Linked DNA regions of Homo sapiens: all the other regions are linked to region 3. Evidence: promoter capture Hi-C in 16 types of primary human blood cells and fetal thymus (Javierre and others, 2016). All regions are on one chromosome and are shown on one strand. Each heading gives the region's core, a stretch centred on a gene start or on the middle of the fragment in contact. The rest is flanking DNA. Distances are from core to core; before and after follow the strand shown. Region 1 holds the start of DLL3 (delta like canonical Notch ligand 3). Region 2 holds the start of FBXO27 (F-box protein 27). Region 3 holds the start of IFNL2 (interferon lambda 2). Region 4 holds the start of RPS16 (ribosomal protein S16).

What was found. Contacts are between HindIII fragments. The CHiCAGO score rates a contact against its expected background, and 5 or more counts as called.
Region 1: the fragment with the promoter of DLL3 here is called in contact with the fragment with the promoter of IFNL2 in region 3 in 6 of 17 cell types (neutrophils, total B cells, monocytes and 3 more); the score reaches 20.4 in neutrophils.
Region 2: the fragment with the promoter of FBXO27 here is called in contact with the fragment with the promoter of IFNL2 in region 3 in 14 of 17 cell types (total B cells, total CD4 T cells, activated CD4 T cells and 11 more); the score reaches 8.3 in total B cells.
Region 4: the fragment with the promoter of RPS16 here is called in contact with the fragment with the promoter of IFNL2 in region 3 in 4 of 17 cell types (neutrophils, total B cells, erythroblasts and 1 more); the score reaches 21.7 in neutrophils.

The regions. Positions count from the first base shown.
Region 1 is chr19:39,497,263-39,500,624 of GRCh38, reverse strand. DLL3 (delta like canonical Notch ligand 3) reads right to left here and starts at 1,678. Exons shown (of 9, transcript NM_203486.3): 1 at 1,582-1,678; 2 at 1,152-1,433; 3 at 1-10. The coding sequence starts at 1,650. RefSeq lists a silencer at 2,299-2,358 and an enhancer at 1,982-2,974. The HindIII fragment of the contact is 3,955 bases long and covers 586-3,362 here.
Region 2 is chr19:39,030,968-39,034,239 of GRCh38, reverse strand. It overlaps FBXO27 (F-box protein 27), which reads left to right and starts at 1,691. Exons shown (of 6, transcript NM_178820.5): 1 at 1,691-1,737; 2 at 1,987-2,376; 3 at 2,920-3,031; 4 at 3,116-3,211. The coding sequence starts at 2,013. RefSeq lists silencers at 1,913-1,982, 2,043-2,192, 2,393-2,472, 2,623-2,862, 2,712-2,894 and enhancers at 1,804-2,596, 3,003-3,112. The HindIII fragment of the contact is 11,668 bases long and covers 1-3,272 here.
Region 3 is chr19:39,267,069-39,270,521 of GRCh38, reverse strand. It overlaps IFNL2 (interferon lambda 2), which reads right to left and starts at 2,126. Exons shown (of 6, transcript NM_172138.2): 1 at 1,944-2,126; 2 at 1,664-1,845; 3 at 1,293-1,370; 4 at 885-1,034; 5 at 701-784; 6 at 334-607. The coding sequence starts at 1,953. The coding sequence ends at 509. The HindIII fragment of the contact is 23,103 bases long and covers 1-3,453 here.
Region 4 is chr19:39,434,496-39,437,551 of GRCh38, reverse strand. It overlaps RPS16 (ribosomal protein S16), which reads left to right and starts at 1,603. Exons shown (of 5, transcript NM_001020.6): 1 at 1,603-1,704; 2 at 1,844-1,945. The coding sequence starts at 1,657. RefSeq lists enhancers at 1-166, 1,830-2,409 and a silencer at 1,350-1,449. The HindIII fragment of the contact is 27,347 bases long and covers 1-3,056 here.

The DNA.
Region 1 (3,362 bases), core at 429-2,928, 230 kb before region 3:
AGAAGGTGCCCTGGTTGGGTGAAGGAAGGGGGAGATGAAAGATGAAAGACAGTGGTTAGGGTAAGTACTCAATGAAGGCCAGAGTTCAGGAATGGAGGGTGATGGCCATTGCTGGGGACTGAGCAAGCAAGGGACAATTCCCAGAGGGACCAGACCAGCCCAGGGAGGGAATGACATCTGTGGCTTTTTTTTGGGGGGGGGGGGAGAATCTCACTTTGTCAACCAGGCTGGAGTGCACTGGCGCAATCTTGGCTCACTGCAACAACCTCCGAGGCTCAAGCAATCCTCCCACCTCAGCCTCCCCAGTAGCTGGGACTACACGCGCATGTCACCATGCCCTGCTATGTTTTTTTTTTTTTTTTAGAAACGAGGTCTCACTATGTTACTGAGACTGGTCTCAAACTGCCGGGCTCAGGAGATCCTCCTGCCTAGACCTCCCAAAGTGCTGGAATTACAGTGTGAGCGACTGGACGTGGCTTGCTTTATTGAGCACTTACTACGTGGTAAGCACTTTATTCAAGAGATGTGGTTGAATCGCTCAAAAGGGACCCTTGTGAGGTACCAGGATGATCCCATTTTTAAGCTTAGGAAACTGAGGCTGGAAACCAGGCAGTCACTTGTCCAAAAGGACAAGGGTCAAGCATTGCAATACAGGTCTGTTCATCTTTGTGCCTTTGGGTTGTGGGGGTGGGAGACAGGATTTTGGAGGTGAAAGAGTAATTAATACAGGACCCAACTGAAAGAACTGAGGACAGAAAAAAAAAAAAAAAGAGAGAGAAGATATTAGTGGTCCCCAAGACAAGGTGTGAGAGGTTTGGGGATAAAGATGAGGACCACAGTTTTTAGGGATCCCCAAGGAGCAGAGGTAGGGTTCCTTGAGTTTAGGATTTCAGAGCTTGGGTTTGAAATTCTGGGAATTTGGGGTCCCAGCATCCAGGGTTGGGGAATCAGAACATTTAGAATCCCCAGTGTGTAGAGTTTAGAGGTCTGTGAATGTGGGGTTCCAGACGGTAGAGTTACTGGTCTGGGAATTTCGTCCACCCCCTGGGAGGCAGGATTAGGGTCTTGGAAGCTGGAGGGGAGAGGAGGTGGAGGTTTCGCTGGCAGGGTTAGGCCTCCAGCACCGGGAGTCCCCCGGGGGCAGCACTTACAGGCCAGGCGTCCCGGAAGGGCACCTGCAAGAGGCCGTCGGGCAGTGGGAGATCAGGCGCGGGCGCTCCGGGCTGCTCGGTGTAGACCGGTCCGCGCGCACTCAGCGCCGCGCCCAGGGCGCACGGGGACTCGGCGGCCTCCTCTGAGAGCCCAGGCTTCAGGCAGACTCTGAAGAAGAGGCGGCAGGGGAGCCGGGCGCTGCAGGGGGACCGCGGGGCCCCAGGGCCTGGACCCGGCCCGAAAGAGTGGATCTGCAGCTCGAAGACGCCAGCGGGCCGTGTCTGGGACGGAGACGGGCGCAGGGTGAGGCGGCCGGGAGGACCCAGGCTTCCCGTCCGCCCCACGCTCCTTCCCCAGGACCTTCAGGTCGCACTCACCCCTCCCCTCCGCATTCATCCCTTTCCACGCCACCTCCCACCTGGCTCTGACCTGGGGGAGGAAAATGAGCGCTAGGATCACAGTCTGGGAGAGGAGCCCGGACATCCGTGGGGAGACCATGGCCTTCTGGTGGGGGGGTCTCGGGAGTCGCAGCTGCTGGCTTCCAAGCCTTATATCTGAGAGAATGGCCCCGCCCCTTCAGGCAGCTACCCGGCCCCAAGGGACCAAGGGCGGGGCGGGGGGGGCGGTCACAGGGGAGGGGGAGCGTGCAGGAGCAACAGCGAGATTCCGTCTGTGGTCGTGGGCACGAGCGAGGTCATGCGTGGGTGATCCCGCGACTTTTTGTGTGGCTAGGGTGGGGTGGGGTTAGGGGGCTAAGCCTGTGTGTGAGGTTGTACATGATTTTAAGATTTTGTGTGTGTGGTATGAACCAGAGCTACCGGAGGGTGCACATGACTTTGTCATTGTGAGTCCACGTGGGACTGTGCGGCTCAGCATACGCCTGGAGTTGTGTGTGATTGACACATTTATGAGGTTGTAAACAATTCTGATTCTGCACGCACACCCGAGTGGGACACTAGAAGTGTACACGACTTCGTGATTGTGTGACGCTTTGAGATTGTGTGGCTGTGTGGCTGCTTCTCTGTGCGTGTGTGTTTATGGGAGATCCTGTATAGGCGTATAAACCTGTGACTTTGTGCTCTGTGCGGGTGTGGTAGAGGCTGTGCAAGGTGGTGAATGGCTGAGGGCGCCTGTGTGTGAATGAGACTGGGTTTGAGAGGTCCACGGATGCAGCCGCGTGTGAATACGATGAAGATCCGGAGTTCTTTGTAGACCCCTGTGTGCGCTGGTTTGTGTGAATGAGACTGGGTTTGGGAGATCCACGGGTGTAGCTGTGTGTGGATACGATGAAGATCCAGGGCTCTTTGTGGACCCCTGTGTGCAGGCGTGTGTGTGTTCCCCCTCCGCAAGACAAAGCCACCCTCCCAAACCCCGCATCGCGGACGCACCAGACGCCAGGGCGAGGAGCTCGGCCTCAAGAGGGGGCTCCCAGCTGTATGTAAATGCCGCCATCTGCCGGGCGGCCGAGCCCCTCCCCCTTCGGGCCGCAGCTGGGCTGCCCGTTTGGCCTCCGGAAGGTGTGAGGAGCAAATGGGCAGGAAATTCCGTCTTCACATACAGGGACCCGCTCCCCCACCCCAGAAGAACTGGGGGGGGGGACATCCCGGGCCCTTCAGAAACCCTTTAGTATTCCAGGACCTCAGCAGGAAAAGCCAATTAGGAGCAGATGTCCCAGCCCCTCTGGTCATAATTGCTCCCTGCCAGGCATGGGGCAAAACCCTTGAGCTGGGGTAACTTCTTTTTTTTCCCCCCCAAAGTAAAAAACTTTAGTGCTTAGAGGCTAATAATTATAGGGGAAAATACAGGTTCAATTTATATGTCTTTTTCCAGAGAAGTAAGATATAGTAACCAACGAAGCCTAGCCCAGCAGAGCCAGGCATACAGTAGGCGCTCTGTTTTTTGTTGTTGCTGTTGTTGTTTTTTTCAGAAGAAGAAGTTTTGCTCTTGTTGCCCAGGCTGGAGTGCAGTGGTGCGATCTTGGCTCACTGCAACCTCCACCTCCCGGGTTCAAGCGATTCTGCTGCCTCAGCCTCCAGAGTAGCTGGGATTACAGGCACCCACCAACACACTCGGCTAATTTTTTATATTTTTAGTAGAGACGGGGTTTCACCATGTTGGCCAGGCTGGTCTCGAACTCCTGACCTTCAAGTGGTCCACCCACCTCGGCTTCCCAAATTGCTGGGATTACAAGCATGAGCCACTAATCCCTG
Region 2 (3,272 bases), core at 442-2,941, 240 kb after region 3:
ATATAGAGATATAGAGACAAATCTCTCGATTTAAAATGTTTTGTTGCGGTGGCTCATGCCTGCGATCCCAGCACTTTGGGAGGCTGAGGCGGGCAGATCACCTGAGGTCGGGAGTTTGAGACCATCCTGGCCAACATGGTGAAACCCCGTCTCTACTAAAAATACAAAAATTAGCTGGGCATGGTGGCATGCGCCTGTAATCCCAGCTACTCGGGAGGCTGAGGCAGGAGAATCGCTTGAACCCATGAGGCGGAGGTTGCAGTGAGACGAGATTGCATCACTGCCCTCCAGCCTGGGCGACAGAGCGAGACTCTGTCTCAAAAAAATAATAAAATGTTTTATTTGGGAAGCAAGAATTGACATTCGAGGCATCCACACAGACCAGGCGGTCTTCAGAACTTTCAAAGAACAAAGAGGTTAGAGGTTTTTATAAGAAACAGAAATGTTAGGTATTGTTTTGCAAGAAAGTTCATTGACACTAGCAACGTTCTGGGGAGCTGGCAAGTTCTGACTGGTAAGTGACAGCAGAGGGAAAAACTAGTCTTAGAGTCACGGCAGGTTTTTTCAGTACCAGTTAGACTGCTTCCAGGTTACAACAGGCAGTTTTAACAGCCAGGCTTGCAGAGAATCACTTTCTTGGAGCAATGGTATCTGCCCTAAGTGTTTTCCCCCCGGCCTCTCAACTTTGTTTTAGTTGGATATGACAAGAAGGATCCAATTCACATGATCAACTTTCACAATTTTTTTTTTCTGTTTGTTTTTTGAGACGGAGTCTCACTCACTCTTTTGCACAGGCTGGAGTGCAGTGGTGCAATCTCTGCTCACTGCAACCTCCCCCTCCCGGATTCAAGCAATTCTCCTGCCTAAGCCTCCAAATTAGCTGGGATTACAGGCGCGTGCTACCACGCCCAGCTAATTTTTGTATTTTTAGTAGAGACGGGGTTTCACCATGTTGGCCAGGCTGGTCTCGAACTTCTGACCTCAAGCGATCCGCCTGCCTTGGCCTCCCAAAGTGCTGGGATTACGGGCATGAGTCACCGCACCCAGCCACAATTGTATTTTTATTGGACAGAGCTGATCTAGAGGTTAAAATGAGGAATTCCGGAGCTAGGCTGGCTGGATTCAAATCCCTACTAGCTGGTGATCATAGACAAGCCACTTGGCCTCTGCTGGTCTCAGTTTTTTCACCTGTGAAGTAAAGGGCATAACAGCACCTACTTCATGGGGTTGCCACCCTGGCTGGCAGTAAAACCGTCCATAAAAGTTGGCTGGTGTTACTATTGGTTGCATTAATTTTTAGCAGCCGGAGCCTGTTTTCTCCTGTGAAATGAAGATAACCACGCCCGACCTTAAAGGTGATGGAAATTTTTTAACACGTTAACGGATACGAGGCCTCCCACTCAGAAGCCTGACCAAAATAACAATGGTTGCTCAGAGCCAGACGTCTCATTGCTACTAACGAATTAGGGACACTTCAAGGGGCCGGCTGGAGGGGACGGCTGTGAGCAGCAGGCCTTGGCTCCTGGCTGCACCTGGCCCCGTCGCGGGAAGCAGGTTGGGTTTGGAGAGCGGGAGGGAGCAGGCGGGAGGGGCTGGCGAGTAAGAAAGAGGATGCAGGGGTGGGTGAAGCTGGCTAGTAAGAGGGGAGGGGCCGGCGAGTAAAAAGGACGCAGAGGGGCGTGGGGAGCTTGCGGCACAGCTAGGGCATCCCGGCGAGGAGCGCCGCCAGGCCCCGGGGTAGGACTTGGGGTGCGGTGTCGGTGCGGCCGCCGAGGGGGGCTGATTGCATGCAATTCGGGGCATACACACAGACCGCGGGGTCTCCGGGATATCGGGGCTATCAAGGACGGGCTGGGGGATGGGGACTTGGGGACGGGGCCCAGGGATGGTGAAGACGGGGGTGCGGCTGGCAGAATCAGGGCAGGCAGAGGCTGCGCGCCGCGGAGGCTGCTGGTCCCTGACGCCTTGACCCTTCCTCTCCCGCAGCCACAGCCGGGCCTGGCGGGGGGACCATGGGCGCCTCGGTCTCCAGGGGCCGGGCCGCCCGGGTCCCCGCGCCGGAGCCGGAACCCGAAGAGGCGCTGGACCTGAGCCAACTACCCCCAGAGCTGCTTCTGGTGGTGCTGAGCCACGTCCCCCCGCGCACGCTGCTCGGGCGCTGCCGCCAAGTGTGCCGGGGCTGGCGAGCCCTGGTGGACGGCCAGGCCCTGTGGCTGCTGATCCTGGCCCGCGACCACGGCGCCACCGGCCGCGCGCTGCTGCACCTCGCCCGCAGCTGCCAGTCTCCCGCCCGTAACGCCAGGCCTTGCCCCCTGGGCCGCTTCTGCGCGCGCAGACCCATCGGACGCAACCTTATTCGCAACCCCTGCGGCCAAGGTGGGATCTCGGAAGAGGAAGTCCAGGATGCTGGGCCACAGTGGGAGCGGTAGCGGGGCCGGAGGGGCGGGGCCGCACTGGGACCGGTACTAGGGGCCGCAGGGGCAGGGCCGCAGTGGGACCGGTGGGAGGAGTCGGAGAGGCGGGGCAGCATTGGGAGCCGGTGTGAGGTGCCGGAGGGGCGGGGCAGCATTGGGAGCCGGTGGGAGGTGTCGGAGGGACGAGGCAGCATTGGCACGCAGGGTGCAGGGCTGACTGGGCAGGGCTTCACCGTTTGCCTGTGGGAGGGGTGGGAGTGGGGCAGTTCTGGGAGCCCGAGAGAGGGGTTGGAGGGGCAGGGCTTTGCTGCAAATCAGTGAGAAGGGCCAGAGGAGCGGGGCTTTGCCCTGAGCTGGTGGGAGGGGAAGGGGGCGGGGCCTCGGTGGGAAGGGTCAGGTGAGTGAGCTGCACTGTGAGCACGTGGGAGGGGCTAGGGGCGGGGTCTCACTAGGAACCAACAGGCGGGCGACTGGAACTTGGGCACAAGCCTTTTTTATTTCACAGAAGGCCTCCGAAAGTGGATGGTGCAACACGGTGGGGACGGCTGGGTGGTGGAGGAAAACAGGACAACCGTGCCTGGGGCCCCTTCTCAGACGTGCTTCGTGACTTCATTCAGGTGAATGCCCCTGCTATCCAAAGGTCCGGCCCCTTGTTGAGAAAGGCCTGCCTGTTCTCATTACCCTGTCTCCTGCATTCCCAGCTGGTGTTGCAAGAAGCAGGTCTTGGACCTAGAGGAGGAGGGTCTGTGGCCAGAACTGCTGGATAGTGGCAGGATTGAGATTTGTGTCTCTGACTGGTGAGTGTGACGATTAAAATAGCCCCTTGCTAAGCACTGACTGCATGTGACATGGCCTTTT
Region 3 (3,453 bases), core at 877-3,376:
GAGAACCCTTCAGCAGAGTCAGCTCAGGATGGACCCATAGCCAGGAGGGGGCAGGAACCTTAGTCCTACAGCAGCAAGGAACAGTGATCTGCCAACAATGTGACTGACCCTGGAAAGAGTTTCTCTTCAGAGCTCCCAGTAAGAGCCCAGCAGCAATGCTTGGATTCTAGCCTGTGAGTCCCACAGGAGAGAAACCAGCCAGGGCCAGCGAGCCTCTGACCTGCAGACTCCCAGCTCATCAAGTGTGTCTTTGGAAGATGCTACTTTTAGCGTTGTTATGGCAGCAACACAAAGGAAATACACACCAACAGACACACAGTCCAACGTCATGAGTGTCTTTTCCTTTGTTTATTTCAACAAGGGTTATAAAAAGTAGAAAAATAAACATTTTCCTGGAGGTGAGTTGGATTTACACACACAAATACATAAATAGCGACTGGGTGGCAATAAATTAAGACAAGTGGCTAATTTATAAATAAAATCTCAGGTTGCATGACTGGTGGGAGGGTCAGACACACAGGTCCCCACTGGCAACACAATTCAGGTCTCGCGTGAGGAGGCGGAAGAGGTTGAAGGTGACAGAGGCCTCGAGGCAGCCAGGGGACTCCTGTAGGGAGGAGGGGATGGGTCAGGGGCTGTCTGGGTTCTGGGCTCCCAGTGGCTCCCCAGACCTCAGTCCCTCTCTTCCCGGGTCACTCACCTTTTTTGGGGCCTCCTGGAGCCGGTACAGCCAATGGTGGAGGCGGCCCCGGGTCCTGGGCCCTGCCGTGGGCTGAGGCTGGATCTGTGGGCAGAGGAGGGCGGTGTGTGAGCCGGGGCCTTGGCAAGGGGAAGGACGCTGCTCAGAGCTCACAGACCTGGGTGCCCAGGCCCCAACGACTCACACAGGCCCGGAACTGGGAGAGGATATGGTGCAGGGTGTGAAGGGGCTGGTCCAAGACGTCCACCAGGGCTGGGTCAGTGTCAGCGGTGGCCTCCAGAACCTTCAGCGTCAGGGCCAGCTCAGCCTCCAAAGCCATGGGGCGCTCCCTCACCTGAGGAGAGGTGAGAAAGAGCAGGTGAGGGGGGAGGTGAGGGGAACAGGTTGGGGAGCAGGATAGAGAGGAACAAGTGAAGGTGACAGGCACAGGGGAGAGGGCACAGCCAGTGTGGTCAGGTGGGAGCGGAGGGAAGGGAGAGCAGGTGTGAGGAGAAGAGAGAGAGACAAGGGAGAAAGAGACGGTGAAGGGGCCACTACAGAGCCAGGTGAGTGGGGCTGGGAGAGCAGGGGTGGGCCTGACTCCCCCTCTCACCTGCAGCTGCCTCAGGTCCCAGGTCCTGGGGAAGAGGCGGGAGTGGCACCTGCAGTCCTTCAGCAGAAGCGACTCTTCCTAGACAGCAAAGGCACAGGTTAGCCCCAGCAGGAGGGGTGGAGGTTAGACCATCCTGGTGGGATTGGAGGATGGCTGACAACAGGATAGGGGAGGTTAACTGCTGGGAGGATGGTAGAGGACCCTCTTCTACAGGAAAACATGAGTCAGTCCCTACAGTAGGAGCATGAGATAGCCCACTGCAGGGAGGGTGGAGGCTAGCCCAGTGAAGGAAGCTGGGAGTGGGAAAGCATGGTGACGCTTGGAGTGGGGGTGGAGGCTAGTCCATGGCAGGAGGGCAGGGGGAGACTCACTAAGGCATCTTTGGCCCTCTTAAAGGCCTGCAGCTCCTGTGGAGACAGGGACTTGAACTGGGCTATGTGGCAGCCCCTTGCATCCGGGAGAGCCCCGTGGAGCCTGGCGACAGGAACTGCTCCAGTCACGGTCAGCACTGCGGCCATCAGCACCAGCACTGGCGTGCAGTCCCCAGTCATGTCTGTGTCACAGAGAGAAAGGGAGCTGAGGGGATGGAGAGGCTGCCCACTGAGGGCAGGGGCTGCAGGAGCTGAGCACGGACAGAGATGTGGGACTCACCTAGTTTCATTCCTGATCTCTGGTCTTTGTCAGCAGAAGAAACACTCTGAGGCTGTCACCCAGGGTCTGTTTGGGTCTTGTCTGGAGTCTCTGTTCTTTTCAGTCCCCTCTTCTGGATCTCAGACTGTGTCCTGGCTTTGACTCTTTCTGTCAGTTTTGAGCTCTGTCTGGGATGTAATTCCTGCCTGAGCTCCATGGGGCAGCTTTTATCCCTGACAGAAGGGCAGTCCCAGCTGATGTAGGAAAAGTGAAAACACAGCCTCAGGTAAGACACCGGCCACCAGGGGAGCCCCAGGCTGGGAAAGCCCAGAGCAGGGCAGGGCTAGTGAGCCAGATGAGCAGCTGGAGGGAAAGAGAAACTGATGGAGACTCAGGGGTAACCTACAGGAAGGTATGTTCCCAGGAGGATTCCACCTGCTCTGGTTTTGTTGTTGTTTAAGACAGGGTCTCACTCTGTCACTGGAGTGCAATGGCATGATCACAGCTCACTGCAGCCTCAAACTCCTGGGCTCAAGCCATCCTCCTCACCCAGCCTATTAAAGTGCTGAGATTACAGGCCTGAGCCACCCCTCCTGGCATATATATATATATATATTTTGAGACAGGGTCTTGTTCGGTCACCCAGGCTGGAGTGCAGTGCAAAATCTTGACTAACTGCAACCTCCACCTCCTGGGTTCAAGCGATTCTCTTGCCTTAGCCTCCCAAGTAGCTGAGATTACAGATTTGTGCCACCATTCCCAGCTAATTTTTATGGTTTTAGTAGAGATGACAGTTCACCAATTGGCCAGGCTGGTCTCGAACTCTTGACGTCAAGTGATCTGTCTGTCTTGGCCTCCCAAATTGCTGGGGTTGCAGGCATGAGCCACTGTGCCCAGAGGCCATGATTTCTTTCTTTCTTTCTTTTTTCTTTTTTTTTTGAGATGGAGTCTTGCTCTGTAGCCCAGGCTGGAGTGCAGCAGCGTGATCTCGACTCACTGCAACCTCCACCTCCTTGGTTCAAGGGATTCTTCTGCTTCAGCCTCCCGAGTAGAAAGGACTATAGGCATGCACCACCACGCCCAACTAATTTTTGTATTTTTAGTAGAGACGGGGTTTTGCCATATTGGCCAGGTTGGTCTTGAACTCCTGACCTCGTGATCTGCCTTCTTCGGCCTCCCAAAGTTCTGGGATTATAGGCGTGAGCCACCGCGCCCGGCCAGAGGCATATATGTGTGTGTATATATATATATATATATATATATAGAGAGAGAGAGAGAGAGAGAGAGAGAGAGAGAGCATGAGAGAGAGTGAGTGAGCAAGAGAGATGGAGTCTCGCTCTGTTGCCCAGGCTGGAGTGCAGAGGCACCATCTCAGCTCACTGCAACCTCTGCCTCCTGGGTTCAAGTGATTCTCCTGCCTCAGCCTCTTGAGTAGCTTGGATTACAGGCATGTGCCACCATGCCCAGCTAATTTCTGTATTTTTAGTAGAGACAGGGTTTCACCATGCTGGCCAGGCTAGTCTTGAACTCC
Region 4 (3,056 bases), core at 354-2,853, 170 kb before region 3:
TTTGGGAGGCTGAGATGAGTGGATCATTTGATGTCAGGAGTTCGAGACCAGTCTGGCCAATATGGTGAAACCCCGTCTCTACTACAAATACAAAAATTAGCCGGGCGTGGTGGTGCATGCCTGTAATCTCAGCTACTCAAGAGGCTGAGGCAGGAGAATCGCTTTAACCGGGGAGGCAGAGGTTGCAGTGAGCAGAGATCATGCCACTGCACTCCAGCCTGGGCGACAGAGCAGGACTCTGTCTCAAAAAAAAGAAAAAAAAAAAACAAAAAACAGAGAGATTCGGCCGGGCGTGGTGGCTCACGCCTGTAATCCCAGGACTCTGGGAGGCTGAGGCGGATCACATCACCTGAGGTCAGGAGTTCGAGACCAGCCTGGCCAACGTGGTGAAACCCCATTTCTACTAAAAATACAAAAAACGACCAGGGCGTGGTGGTAGACGCCTGTAATTCCAGCTACTCGGGAGCCTAAGGCAGGAGAATCTCTTGAACCCGGGAGGCGGAGGTTGCAGTGAGACGAGATCGCACCACTGCACTCTAGCCAGGGCAACGAGCGAAACTCCGTCTCAAAAAAAAGAGAGAGATTCTAGGGTGGGGACGGGGAAGAGGTTAATTCTTGGGGGAGGGTCTCTTAGGAGAGGGGGATTCTAACGGAGGGAAAACTCCAGGGAAGGCAGTTGCTGGGAAGAGGAGTCTCGGAAGGGAAATAAACTCAGGAGAAAGGTAGATTTTGAGGGACGGGTCTCTGAGAGAAAAGTTTTTGTGGATTTGCGGGGCGGGGTGTTCTGGGAAAGGGGGATTTGCCGGGAAAGGGGGATTTGCCGGGAAAGGGAGATTCTGGAGGAGGGAGATTCCAGGGGTACTGGGTCCTGACAAGAGAAAGATTCTGGGAAGGGTGACTGAGGGGACGAGGACCGAATGGAGGGAGATTCAGGGAAAAGGGGGGTCTAAGTTGAGCACTCTTAAGAGGGACATTTGGGGTTGGCCATCTGAGAGAAGGATGGGAAACATTCTGGGAAGAGGAAACTGAAAGGAAGGACATTCTGGTGAAAGGGAGATTCTGAGGGGAAGGGGCTCTGAGGGGAAAAGGATTCTGGGAGAGGATCCCCAAGGAGGGGGATTCTAGGGAGGATAGGATTCTGGAAGTCCTTAATCTGAGAATCCAGCCAGATTTCTTGCAGTAGATTCCAAAGGAAGATTCTGATGCGGGGGATTCGGGGAGGAGGGAGTCCAGAGGGGAGAAAGATTACAGGTGTTGGGAGGGTGGGAACTGATTTAAAGAAAGGGCGAAGGGAGATTATTAAAGAGCCAGAATGCAAAGAAGAGCTGCGGTAGTCGACTACAGAGGACGCGAAGCACACTCCCGCAGCCTTCCCTTCAGTCCGCACACGACACTCCCAGGCCCCGCCCCTTCCGCCCACAGAGCCCGCCACTTCCGCCTCACAGGGCCCGCCCGCTCTGAGCGCCTAAGGGCCTTCCCGCCGCTGACCAGACGCCCCGCCCGTTAGCCGCAACAGAAGCCGTAAAGCTCTCTCCCGTCGCGACGCAGTGCTCAAGGCGCCTGCGCAGACCCTGAAAAGCGGCCAGGGTGGCCCCTAGCTTTCCTTTTCCGGTTGCGGCGCCGCGCGGTGAGGTTGTCTAGTCCACGCTCGGAGCCATGCCGTCCAAGGGCCCGCTGCAGTCTGTGCAGGTCTTCGGACGCAAGGTGAGCCAGACGCCGGATGGGAAGGGGAGGGGAAGGAGAAGGCCAGGGTCTGGGAGAGGTCGGTGGGCAGGAATCTAGGGGGTAACATGGGAGCTGGAGCCGGAGCTCACGGGGCCCCTGTTTCTCTTGTATCTTACAGAAGACAGCGACAGCTGTGGCGCACTGCAAACGCGGCAATGGTCTCATCAAGGTGAACGGGCGGCCCCTGGAGATGATTGAGCCGCGCACGCTACAGTACAAGGTGCTGGGATCCGGCACCGGCGTTGAGTGGATGGAGGACTCTTGGAGACAGAGATGTTGTAGCTCTTGAAAGCTGGGGGGGCTGGCATCAGCAACGGGATGTTTAGAAGTTGTGTTGGGTGTAGAACAGTGGGGTATTTGGCAATAGAGCTGGGCTTGGGGTTCAGAAGATGTAAAAGCTGAGATGGGGTTGTTGAAGATTAAGGGTTTGCTTTGAGAACTGGGATGTTAGGAAGCTCACCTCACTGGGGCGGGGGGACCCAAAGGGTGAAGGGACACCGACTATTTTTTATTTTATTTATTTGTTTTGAGAGGGAGTCTCGCTGTGTCGCCCAGGCTGGAGTGTAGTGGCGCGATCTCGGATCACTGCAACCTTCGCCTCCCGGGTTAAAGCGATTCTCCTGCCTCAGCCTCTTGAGTAGCTGAGATTACAGGCATGCACCACCACGCCCGGCTAATTTTTGTATTTTTAGTAGAGACGGGGTTTCGCCATATTGGCCAGAGTGGTCTCGAACTCATTACCTCAGGTGATCCACCAGCCTCGGCCTCCCGAAGTGCTGGGATTGCAGGCGTCAGCCACCGTGTGCGGCCGAATTTGGGTCTGTTTAAATGCTTGCTTGTAAAAGGGGTTCCTCTGTTCCCTTTTTGGGACTCTCAATTTCTTTGGCTCAGAATGGAAAGAAACCAGAGTCTGATTTCTGCCCCTTCTGAACTCTACTACTTTTAAAAGAAAGAATATCTACATTGCAGGGTCAGTTAAAAAAATTTTTTTTGAGTTATAAGGTTCTTTTTTAAAAACAGTATCTTGCTGTCACCTACCCTGGAGTGCAATAGCACAATCCTAATGAACTGCAGCCTTAAACTCCTGAGTTGGAGATCCTCCCACCTCAGCCTTTCGGTTGCCAAGACTACAGGCACATCACCACGCCTGGCTCATTTGAGAAATATTTTTCTGTAGACGTGGGGTCTCACTTTATTGCCCAGGCTGGTCCTTGGTCTCATGTGATCCTTCTGCCTGGACTGGGATTACAGGTGTGATCACCATGCCTGGCCTAGAATTTAATAAAAATTCTGAGATTTCCTTTGTGTAGCAGATGTTGAATGTTACTGTT